2 separate regions of the Homo sapiens genome follow, and region 2 is linked to region 1. The links are contacts of gene promoters, found by promoter capture Hi-C in human tissues and cell types (Jung and others, 2019). All regions are on one chromosome and are shown on one strand. Each heading gives the region's core, a stretch centred on a gene start or on the middle of the fragment in contact. The rest is flanking DNA. Distances are from core to core; before and after follow the strand shown. Region 1 holds the start of BMP7 (bone morphogenetic protein 7). Region 2 holds the start of RAE1 (ribonucleic acid export 1).

Region 1 (6,006 bases), core at 923-3,422:
AGATGGACCCTGGACGACTGTGGCACTCCTGCAATTTCCCCAGTCTCCCTGGGGTAGGATTCCTGCTTGCCAGGATGCCCACCTTTCCTTCTCCCTCCTGCATGTCCTCCTCTGCCTGGCTTCTGAATTGTTTCCAGAGAGAGTGATAGACAAGATCTGCCTCTCCTTCAGTCCCTGAATCTTATTTAAGGCTCTTGCTTTGCTTCCCTGGCCTGGAGGCCGGCTCCTTGATGGAGTCTGCCATGTGGGTTCGCTCATGGCCATGTCTTCCTGCCCAGCATGGTGCTTGGCCCTGGGACTGGCCACATAATATCTGGGCCAGGTGCAAAATTAGTACGGGGCAGGGGGTACTTTGTTCATAGGTGATTCAGAACCACATATGGTGACCTCAGAGTAGGAAACCAAGTGTGGGGCCCTTAAGAGCTGGGGGGCCCTGTACGACTGTCCAGGTTGCAGGCCCCACAGCTCGCCTCCTGATATCCTGTGCTCCATGCTTGTCTGTTGAAGGAAGGAGTGAATGGATGAAGAGCAGGTGGTGGGGGTGGTTTGAGGGCCTTGCCTGGTGGGTGGGTAGAGGCCCCTCCCTGGCATGGGGCTCAAGACCTGTTCCATCCCACAGCCTGGGGCCTGTGTGTAAATGGCCAGGACCTGCAGGCTGGCATTTTTCTGCTCCTTGCCTGGCCTCTGGCCTCCCCTTTCTCCACCCATGTGGCCCCTCAGGCTGCCATCTAGTCCAAAAGTCCCCAAGGGAGACCCAGAGGGCCACTTGGCCAAACTACTTCTGCTCCAGAAAACTGTAGAAGACCATAATTCTCTTCCCCAGCTCTCCTGCTCCAGGAAGGACAGCCCCAAAGTGAGGCTTAGCCAGAGCCCCTCCCAGACAAGCGCCCCCGCTTCCCCAACCTCAGCCCTTCCCAGTTCATCCCAAAGGCCCTCTGGGGACCCACTCTCTCACCCAGCCCCAGGAGGGGAAGGAGACAGGATGAACTTTTACCCCGCTGCCCTCACTGCCACTCTGGGTGCAGTAATTCCCTTGAGATCCCACACCGGCAGAGGGACCGGTGGGTTCTGAGTGGTCTGGGGACTCCCTGTGACAGCGTGCATGGCTCGGTATTGATTGAGGGATGAATGGATGAGGAGAGACAGGAGAGGAGGCCGATGGGGAGGTCTCAGGCACAGACCCTTGGAGGGGAAGAGGATGTGAAGACCAGCGGCTGGCTCCCCAGGCACTGCCACGAGGAGGGCTGATGGGAAGCCCTAGTGGTGGGGCTGGGGTGTCTGGTCTCAGGCTGAGGGGTGGCTGGAAAGATACAGGGCCCCGAAGAGGAGGAGGTGGGAAGAACCCCCCCAGCTCACACGCAGTTCACTTATTCACTCAACAAATCGTGACTGCGCAGCTACAGTGGCTACCAGGCGCTGGGTTCAAGGCACTGCGGGTACCAGAGGTGCGGAGAAGATCGCTGATCCGGGCCCCAGTGCTCTGGGTGTCTAGCGGGGGTAAGAAGGCAATAAAGAAGGCACGGAGTAACTCAAACAGCAATTCCAGACAGCAAGAGAAACTACAGGAAAGAAAACAAACGTGCGAGGGGCGAGGCGAGGAAACAACCTCAGCTTGGCAGGTCTTGGAGGTCTCTGGGAGGAGAAAGCAGCGTCTGATGGGGGCGGGAGGTGGTGAGTGGGGAGAGGTCCAGGCGGAGGGAATGGCGAGCGCAGAGACAGGCTGGCAACGGCTTCAGGGAGGCGCGGAGGGGTCAGCGTGGCTGGCTTAAAAGGATACAGGGACTGAGGGGCAAGACCGGCTCAAGGGTCACCGCTTCCAGGAAGCCTTCTATTTCCGCGCCACCTCCGCGCTCCCCCAACTTTTCCCACCGCGGTCCGCAGCCCACCCGTCCTGCTCGGGCCGCCTTCCTGGTCCGGACCGCGAGTGCCGAGAGGGCAGGGCCGGCTCCGATTCCTCCAGCCGCATCCCCGCGACGTCCCGCCAGGCTCTAGGCACCCCGTGGGCACTCAGTAAACATTTGTCGAGCGCTCTAGAGGGAATGAATGAACCCACTGGGCACAGCTGGGGGGAGGGCGGGGCCGAGGGCAGGTGGGAGGCCGCCGGCGCGGGAGGGGCCCCTCGAAGCCCGTCCTCCTCCTCCTCCTCCTCCGCCCAGGCCCCAGCGCGTACCACTCTGGCGCTCCCGAGGCGGCCTCTTGTGCGATCCAGGGCGCACAAGGCTGGGAGAGCGCCCCGGGGCCCCTGCTATCCGCGCCGGAGGTTGGAAGAGGGTGGGTTGCCGCCGCCCGAGGGCGAGAGCGCCAGAGGAGCGGGAAGAAGGAGCGCTCGCCCGCCCGCCTGCCTCCTCGCTGCCTCCCCGGCGTTGGCTCTCTGGACTCCTAGGCTTGCTGGCTGCTCCTCCCACCCGCGCCCGCCTCCTCACTCGCCTTTTCGTTCGCCGGGGCTGCTTTCCAAGCCCTGCGGTGCGCCCGGGCGAGTGCGGGGCGAGGGGCCCGGGGCCAGCACCGAGCAGGGGGCGGGGGTCCGGGCAGAGCGCGGCCGGCCGGGGAGGGGCCATGTCTGGCGCGGGCGCAGCGGGGCCCGTCTGCAGCAAGTGACCGAGCGGCGCGGACGGCCGCCTGCCCCCTCTGCCACCTGGGGCGGTGCGGGCCCGGAGCCCGGAGCCCGGGTAGCGCGTAGAGCCGGCGCGATGCACGTGCGCTCACTGCGAGCTGCGGCGCCGCACAGCTTCGTGGCGCTCTGGGCACCCCTGTTCCTGCTGCGCTCCGCCCTGGCCGACTTCAGCCTGGACAACGAGGTGCACTCGAGCTTCATCCACCGGCGCCTCCGCAGCCAGGAGCGGCGGGAGATGCAGCGCGAGATCCTCTCCATTTTGGGCTTGCCCCACCGCCCGCGCCCGCACCTCCAGGGCAAGCACAACTCGGCACCCATGTTCATGCTGGACCTGTACAACGCCATGGCGGTGGAGGAGGGCGGCGGGCCCGGCGGCCAGGGCTTCTCCTACCCCTACAAGGCCGTCTTCAGTACCCAGGGCCCCCCTCTGGCCAGCCTGCAAGATAGCCATTTCCTCACCGACGCCGACATGGTCATGAGCTTCGTCAACCTCGGTGAGTAAGGGCAGGCGAGGGTACGCGTCTCCTTTCGGGGGCACTTTGAGACTGGGAGGGAGGGAGCCGCTTCTTCTATGCAGCCCGCCCAGCTTTCCGCTCCTGGCTGAAATCGCAGTGCCTGCCCGAGGGTCTCCCACCCACAGCCCTATGACTCCCAAGCTGTGTGCGCCCCCAGGTCGGGCGCGCTGGGTTCGGTGAGCCTGTAGGGGTTACTGGGAAGGAGGGATCCTCCGAAGTCCCCTCCATGTTACGCCGCCGGCCGCATCTCTGGGGCTGGAGGCAAGGGCCGTTCAAAGCGCGGGGCTCGGTCATGTGAGCTGTCCCGGGCCGGCGCGGCTCGCGCTACCTGGATGTAAAGGGCCCTTCCCGGCGAGGCTGCCTTGCCGCCCTTCCTGGGCCCCTCTCAGCCCTGCCTGGCTCTGGCATCGCGGCCGTCGCACCCCCTTACCCTCCCTGTCAAGCCCTACCTGTCCCCTCGTGGTGCGCCCGCCTTAGCGTACCGCGCGCTCCGAGCGCCTTGGGGCCCCTCTCCGGGCCGCCGGATGCCCCATTCTCTCTTGGCTGGAGCTGGGGAAGAAACGGTGCCATTGCTAATTTTCTTTGTTTTCTTTCTTTGTTTATTTTTTTCTTTTTTCTTTTTTTTTCTTTTCTTTTCTTTTTTTTTTTTTTTGAGACGGAGTTTCACTCTTGTCGCCCAGTCTGGAGTGCAATGGCGCGATCTCTGCTCACCGCAACCTCTGCCTCCCGGGTTCAAGCGATTCTCGTGCCTCAGCCTCCCGAGTAGCTGGGATTACAGGCATGCGCCACCATGCCTGGCTAATTTTGTATTTTTAGTAGAGACAGGGTTTCTCCATGTTAGGCAGGCTGGTCTCGAACTCCCGATCTCAGGTGATCCTCCCGCCTCAGCCTCCCAAAGTGGTGCTGGGATTACAGGCGTGAGCCACTGTGCCCTGCCGCTAGTCTTCTATTTTAAGTATTTAGTGGTAGGTCCCGGGCCGGCAGAATCTATTTTCAGCATTTACCACGTGTGGCGCGCAAACCACAGGTTTTGGCGATTGGGTTGCGCGGGATCTCAGAGCTGACGCCGCGGGGGCGGCTGGGGGTCCCGGTTTCCGACTGGAGCCGCGACGACCCCGGCGACGCGAGCCTGGGGCTGCAGCGAGGGCCGGGGAGCTCCCCCTCCATATGTGCGCGCACATTCTCCAGACTTGCTCAAACTAACCCCCCGGCAGCGCCAGCGCGCTGCGGGACTGATGATCAAATATTTGGTTTCCGAGATAACACACCCCGATAGCGCTGTTTCCTGAGCCGCTTTCATTCTACTTGTGTAACTTGCTGCGAAAACCCGAACCAAGTCAAGACAGCAAACTCACGCCCACGGGCGCTGTGTCAACATGGAAATAATGATACTGAAGCCCCACGCTGGGCACCTGGGGCGTGGACTGGGGGCGCGGGGGAAGCGCAGATCCGCCTTCATGCTTCCCCCTCCTGATAAGGTCCCTGGAGTTCCCGGGAGGCCATTGTCTGTACTTAATAATAACTAAATCCAACTAGTGAACCAAGCTTCAGCGAGCAAGGGGTGGGAGGTTTAGATGCCAAAATACCTTCAAAAAAGTTTAAATTATACTAAGCAGCCAGTTAAGAAGGAAGCAGCAACATATGACCTGATTTAGAACCATCTCCAAGATGTATGAGGTGGAAAGAAGCAAGGTGCAGATGAGTGGGCTGCATGTGTGCTTGTATATCATCGTGTCCTCCTGGAGGAAGACACCAGGAACTGGAGAGAGATTTTACTGGAGGGGTAGAGAGGCGGGGGCATAGCTGGGGCTTACGGAGTGGGAGGTGGGGTCTGATTTTTCGTCGTCTGCACTTCTGTATTTGTGATTTTTTTAAAACAATGTGTATTTATTAACTATACCAAAAACTAAAGGAAAATTCCAAATACATACATATAAATAATGAACGCAGAGCTCTGTCGCCCTCCTGAAGCCTGGGGTTAGCCAGGGCCCTTTCTCTGGTGGGGGATTTATAGCATCTTCCCTTCTGTTGGGTACCCCGGACTCCCACTGAATGTGCAGGTCCCAGTGGCTGCCTTCAGAGCCTGGCTGGAATCATTAAAAAGGTATTTGTAATCTCTGGCTTCTGCAGAAGGCCCTGCAAACCAAGAGCAAAAAAGCCCCCAGTGCTTATGGGCCGGCAGTGTGGGCTAGGCCCCGGGGCTCCCTGTCCCCAAGAGAAAGACCAGGTTGCTCGGAGGGTGCCTCTGGGAACTTTGGTGCGGGCTATTTGCTCCCCCCATGGCGGCAGGAGCAAGCTGGGACTTGTTTGGGAAGGCCACAGCTGGGTGGTTTTCCTCCTCTGGCTGTACATACACCTTTCAATCCATTTCTTTCATCTTGAAAGGACAAAGACCGGCTTGTCTGAGCCTCTTAATCAGTCAGGCTGGCTTTGGGCTTTGTGGGACCCTGACTTTCTCAGGTCTAGCTTTCTGGGACATCACTCCAAATTAGATGGCAGAGTGGCTTTTAACAGAGCGCACTGACCTTGTTTTCTTTCTCTCTCTGTCCCTAAACTCGAGGTCATTAGTTAGGTGAAGACCTGGGCTGCAGTTTGGCGAGACACTTCCTGTAGATGCTTCTAATGTTGGCCTTTAATTTCTGCTAAGCAGCAGCACACAAATAAATGGCCTGTCCCTTCTATCCTGTTGTAGCTTGGAATTTCTCCATAGGAGGGACTTGGGGGTGGCAGTAGGGTTGGAGAGGGTTGGGGGGAGGTGTAGGAGACTTGTCTGGCCACTGAGTTTGCTGAGAAAGTACTGCTATAGTGTTTTTCCTTGGATTGCAAATCATGTTGATCTGTAGTATTCGAAGTTTTCTAAAGGCAAGTTTATTCTCA
Region 2 (6,006 bases), core at 885-3,384, 88 kb before region 1:
TATATCTAGAACACAACTCTATGCATTTCTTAACACTCACAGAGCTGTATACCAAAAAGGTTCAGTTTTACAGCAGGCAAATCAGACTCAATAAACCTGACTAAAGGAACAGGTACAAGGCCTCGGAAGGGGCCTCAAGGCTTAGCTTCTTCAGCACTGCAGTGTGTCTGCCTGTCACCAGGCCCCTTAACATTCTCACTACTGTTGGGTTCAGCCACCAGCAGCAATGGCAGGAGAAGGGAGGAGAGAGGCTGGGGTGTTCAACCCCTGGCTCCCCTCGCCAGGCCGAGGCCCGTCTACAGCTGTTCATCCCCTGGCTCTCCCGCGCCAGGTGGAAGCCCCTCTACAGCTGCAGCTCATGCTGTGCTCCAGGAGGCCCGCCCACTGCAGCTTGGCACCGGTGTTTCACCTTCCCTGCTGGCTTCTTCATAAATTATCCCTTAATCATTAAACTCTCCTCAATCACACACACAAAATTTAATACAAGAAAAGCTTTCAAAGAAAGTGGCTAACTAAAGCCAACATTAAGAACATCAATAAATGACTATATTTATGTTCAGAAACTTAGAATTCCTACAATATGAACACATATATGCTATTTGTGTTTGGATTATTAAATATTCTAAATCATTCTGTACTTTAAGTAAAATGGAACACGAGAAATGGAAGGGAACGTACGTCACTCCAGCAGACATCAAGCACAGGCCCAGTGTGCATCTGCTGGGCTTTTGGAATGGTCTGTCCACTGTCTTGAACTTCCCAGCAGCGAACCTGTAGTAACAAAAAAATTCAATGCAAACAAAGCAATTACGATGTATTGCTTGCATTTAACACCTAAAAACTAATGGGGTACACCTTAACCATACATAGACTTCTCATAGCAACCTAATTATCTAACTTCAAGAACAAAGGAATTAAAATATCTATGAAAGCAACTGTTTTCTTCGCCTAAGCTATTAAAATAAACAAATTCTATTGCTTACACATAAAATTGCAGATAATTTTCTCAATGCATCTATGAGATATGTCTTTTAAAGTAGAATATCACTTACCCATTACCATTCAGAGAATCAAGACCAAAGTAGAAACTTACCTCTTTTCTGAATACTTTATATAATCTCCCCTCCGTTAAAAAAGTAATACATTTTAGAGATTTTGTAAATATGGCAAAAAAATAAAAATCACCCTAATCACACCACAGACAACCACAGCTAATGGTTCTGTGTGCTCTTAGTCTTCTTTCCATGTACGCATATTTTCTGGAAGACACTAGATTATACAGTGTCTTCACTTTTGCAGCTACAGCTTTCCTCACCTGCATCACTAGCCTGTTCAACTTGAAACATCCTTTTTTTAAGCAGCAAATAATCTGAAATCTTTCTAAAAATTACATGTAGAAAGCAAGCTTGCTCAACCTTGACTACCATCCTCCCTCCTGTTCTCCTAACCCCTGCTGCCCCTGTGCTGTAGGCTACAGTTCAAAAGCTTTTCCAAAAACTTACAATGGTATTCCATCATACAAACATACTATACATTGCCATTACTACTGGATATTAAAATTTTCAAAATTTTCACAAGTTCACAGTGCTTTGGCTGTTATAAAGGTTAATTTAGATAATGCAGATGAAGTACATTATCAGATTTCCTACTCAAGTCCCAGAAGGGTATCAGTGAGATAAAGGGTATAAGCTGAAGGATTTTTGATAACTATTGCCAATTATCCTGTGGAAAAGCCAACTTACATACCTACCAGCCATACATGCAGGGTTTCAGCTTATCCTTGCTGGCACTATTATTCTTTTAAACTTTTAATTTTGTTAATTTAATAAAAAAAAGTCTTAAATTTGCATTTATCTGATTACAAGCATGGATGAATGGTTCAGGTTTATTCTTTCTTTTGTGAAGTCCCTCTTTACACCCTTTGCTTATTTTTCTACCAGAGTTTTCTTTCTTTTAGTAAACTGTAATTTTTTTGTCTTTCTTTTTGTACATGATGAGTAAGTATCTAGGCAAATCTGTGCTATTATTTAACGTTGAAAAAGTTTCATACATGCCTGAGGAACACTGTCAGGATGCCAAGAAAGGGAATTTGTTGGTGTGTGCCACTGGGTATAATGTTCACTCTGGATGAATATGATATTTGATTTGGGAATAAACTTCAAGAGACTGAACTAAAGTAGAAAATTTCGAGCAACACATATGATTGTGCTTTCCTAACAAAAACGGGTGTAAGAATAATGTCTGCCATTCAGAAGGGTTCACACCCCCTAAATTGATTTCTCAAAAAAGGCCATAAATAAGTCCAACTGATTCATTTACTTGGGAAACAACGGAGCTAAAGCTAACCTTGGCCATACAAAGAGAGATGATTTCTAGAACACGTATTTAAGGAGCACTTACATCATTAGCCCATGATCCTGCAATAAGAAAGTTCCCCGGCAAGGTTGGTGGGCTAAAAGACAGACAACCAATGCTATCATCAGGAGATGATGTTACTTCAATATCCTGCGGGAAAAAAGTCAATGTTAAAATGTATGCACGCTCACAACTTCATTCCAAATTGTTTTCTTTCTCACTAATTACCTCACGGTGGCCTTTCCTTGTGTACAAGAACTAACTGAATTAGACCTTTCCTTACTTTGATCAAAGACAGGAGTAAAAAATAAGCTAGAGAAAGTACCAGCACCACCAGGACTAGCAGTAGCAGCTGCTAATGAAATGCCCATGGTCTTGTTTTCTAAATGACCAGTTCACTCTGGCCCCACAGTGCTAGATCACAGTTTTCACCTGCCATCCCCTCTCTCCAACCATGGGAATTCTGAGTCAACAGTCCTGGCTGGGCCAGGCCCTGGGAATCTGCACCGGAATCTGCACCTTGGGTGATTCTGGAGACCTGGCAGGCCAGGAAGAACAGGACACAAGTACGGGGACACATTTTCTGTGCTCCAGTGTTTCAGAAACATGAGTTAGACAAAGTTTCAAAGCTTTCAGCCTAAAGGAGGCTCCCAAGTCATCTCGGGTTCTGTCCTTGATGGGAGAAACTCTGCCCAAACTCTTCCTACAAGCCCCAGGAAGCTTTTCGTGGTACCTTCATGGGATTGTGATTGTCTGTAGTTGCACTGCCAAACATGCTGGTCCCACTGGTTCCAAAACCTGAGGTTGTTCCAAACAGGCTCATTTTGAACCTAAAAAGTAATGAAAAATGTTAAGGATGGGTTTTCTCTTAATATCACTGAGAGGCAATGGTAAGATAATTAACTGGCAGAAGAGAAATACTCAAAGTGGCTTGAGGCCAGGCTTCACTTTTCAGACAAGAGCGCAATGAGCAGAGTGCTTTCAAAACATAAACCTTCTATTTTAGAGTAGTTTTAGGTTTCCAGAAATAGTAAAGATAGAATTCCCATACACTCCATATCTAGTTTCCCCTATTATCTCATATTAGTACGGTTCATTTGTTACCATTAATAAACCAGTATGGATACATTGCAGATTATTTTGTAGGCACCAGCTAGAAAATAAATTCACTCATTTTTTACATAGAGACCCTGAGCTGCGCAGCAGGAATATAACAGTAAACAAGATCGCAGGTCCCCGTGCTTTCAGGTTTCCACCTAGTGGGCATTCACTTTCCTACTAATTTCTACATTCTAGTTTAGGTCAGCATCCGCATGAAACTACCTAGAACAACCAGTCCGGGAAGCGAATCAGCAATTTCTTCGTAAAAGTTTTAAAAAGGTCGGGCATCGTGTTTTGGACATTTACCCAGCAAGAACCTCTCCCACCCTGGGTTTTTTCTTGAATATCATAATCTAACAGGCCCACCAGGGTTTGGTCAGGGCCTCTTGCCACTCAGGAGTTGGGACTCTAATCTCACCAGTCTTCATTTTCCTGCTCTGCAAACATAGAGAACATTAACACATTCTCCAGGGCTGCTCTGGGGATCAAATCAGATTATGTAGAAAATGCAGTATCTAGTTCATAGTGGGTACAATAAACGACTTTTCCCTTCTTTTTTCCTTCCAACTCCCCGAGGAGTTACGTACACTGAAACCACATTTCAATCCTACTACCTGTTACGCTGAAAAGTCCTCCATACCAGTCACCTCTCCAAAGGGAGCCAAATGGCTGAGTGACATCCTTGCTAACAAGACAACACAGAACGGAGAAACTGCAAGGAATTTGGGGAAGGCATTTGAGTTTCCTCAGCTTCATGAAAAATAAGTGCAGAACAAAAGGTCAGAGCAACAGCTACAAGCACATGTACATTTTAGTGAACGTGAGGGGATGTGGTCCTTGCCGGCCACACTTCTGCCCTCAAATGCAGAGGTACTTGAAACACCAGTTGGCTGTATGAACGAACAAAGGCATGACAAGGCTTCTGCAATCAGTCCAGGTGCTGGTTACACGGCTTTGGACGGGTCACTTAACCTTGATTTTCTCATCTGTAAAACAGAGACACTAATATCTACTTCACAGAGTTATGAGAACTAAATGAAGCCACACACACACACTGCCTAAAGCACTACAGGTTCTTAATAAATATTACTTTCACTCTATTCCTCTACCTCAACCTTCAAGTTGGGAGAGAACATTTCTGCCATTAGGGATGAACTTAGGAAAAAGAACATGGTAGGTGAGAATCGTTCGTGTTAGTCAGTGTGGACCACACCTTATGCTGAGCACTGGGAAGCTTCCAAAGTTCAGAAGGCACAGTCATCTGTGGGACCCACCTAATCTCTTCCCGCTCTCTCCCGCCTTGCTGCACCCCAGCCCTCCTAGCTCTGCTGGCTTCCTTTCTCCGCTGAACACAACAAGCTCATCCCTGCCTTGGAGCAAACCTAGTGCTGTTCCTTCAGCTTGGGATGATTTGCTTCTCCCTCCCCACAGCTACCTCCGTTTGAATCTTCATATCCCAGTTCAAAAGTTGCCTCCTCCGAACTTCTTGGGGTGATGAAAATGTCCCAAATTTGAACTTGCCATGTTTACGCAACTGCATAAAATTTCCAAACTCACAATATACACTTTCAATGGTTGAAATTAATGTTATTTTATACTTCAATAAAGCTGTCACACGTATTCTTTTTTAAAGTCACCTCCTCAGACGCTTCTTTGCCAACTTTAACATATCTAATCTTCCATCACATCCCCTGGAATTTCTTGTTTACACTCAAAATCTCTTCCCCCCCAGAATGCTGGCTCCAAGAGGGCAGCCACTTGCCTGGATTCTTCCCTTAATGCATACTGGGTCCCACAGTACAATGCCTGGCCCAGGGCGGCTGGTGTTTAATACTACTTGCCTGGAGAAGTACTGCCTGTACGGTGGCACCTATATACGTATACAATAAATACTTGGCGGGCTAAGACAGAAACAGACTTAGTTTCAGAGACTGGTAACTGCTACGAAAGAAATGGAGCAGGTTGACGTGGAAGAGGCTAAAAGGGGACGCCCTTCTGCAAAGCGGCCAGGGAAAGCTTCTCCCAGGAGCTGACATGTATCTGACGAGACGCCAGACGTGTAAGGGGGAGGGACAGAGGCGACACACACTGCATTAACGCAATGTGACCCTTCCCAGAGGCTCAGTTCCCCCACAAGAGAAACGATGGATTAGGCCCTAGGTGACCCCTAAGGCCATTTCCAGCTCTGACCTCGCTTCCAGGGCCCAGTAACGAAGCTTAGTCAACAGTCCCGCTCGCGCCCCAGCATCCCGCAGAAGCGCGCTCCCGGGAGGCAACTCGGCCTCTGCGGGAGCCATGGCGGCGGTTAACGACGGGACGCGCGCGGCACGGGGCCTACCTGGGGGTCTCGCCCCGGCGGAAAGCGGCGGCCGGGAGCAGAAGGGTCTGAGGAGTTTGCGAACCTGCTCTGGCGCGAAGGACGAGGGCCAGGAGCGCGGACAGAAATCCCAGGAGCCCGAAGCCTCCTTAAGCCTGCGGTAGAAACTGCCCTGACTACCGCGGAAACAACGCGCGTGCGCCCTGGAGCCACTTCCTGCGTCGCCCGGAAAT

The links. The method cuts DNA at HindIII sites, captures the fragments that hold promoters and counts their contacts. A contact is called where the count stands out against the background at its distance.
Region 2: a contact is called between a fragment that was not itself captured here and the fragment with the promoter of BMP7 in region 1, in 3 of the 25 tissues and cell types used here (dorsolateral prefrontal cortex, mesendoderm cells and thymus).

Annotation. Positions count from the first base shown.
Region 1 is chr20:57,262,807-57,268,812 of GRCh38, reverse strand. It overlaps BMP7 (bone morphogenetic protein 7), which reads left to right and starts at 2,172. Exons shown (of 7, transcript NM_001719.3): 1 at 2,172-3,108. The coding sequence starts at 2,691. It overlaps LOC112268270 (translation initiation factor IF-2-like), which reads right to left and starts at 2,373. Exons shown (of 2, transcript NR_171651.1): 1 at 2,171-2,373; 2 at 1,526-2,030. RefSeq lists a cis regulatory region at 1,973-2,065, a promoter at 1-2,684 and enhancers at 3,793-4,508, 5,227-5,943. The HindIII fragment of the contact is 13,311 bases long and covers 1-6,006 here.
Region 2 is chr20:57,351,211-57,357,216 of GRCh38, reverse strand. RAE1 (ribonucleic acid export 1) reads right to left here and starts at 5,962. Exons shown (of 12, transcript NM_003610.4): 1 at 5,795-5,962; 2 at 3,089-3,185; 3 at 2,401-2,505; 4 at 679-771. The coding sequence starts at 3,178. RefSeq lists enhancers at 5,493-5,572, 5,763-6,006. The HindIII fragment of the contact is 5,894 bases long and covers 1-5,081 here.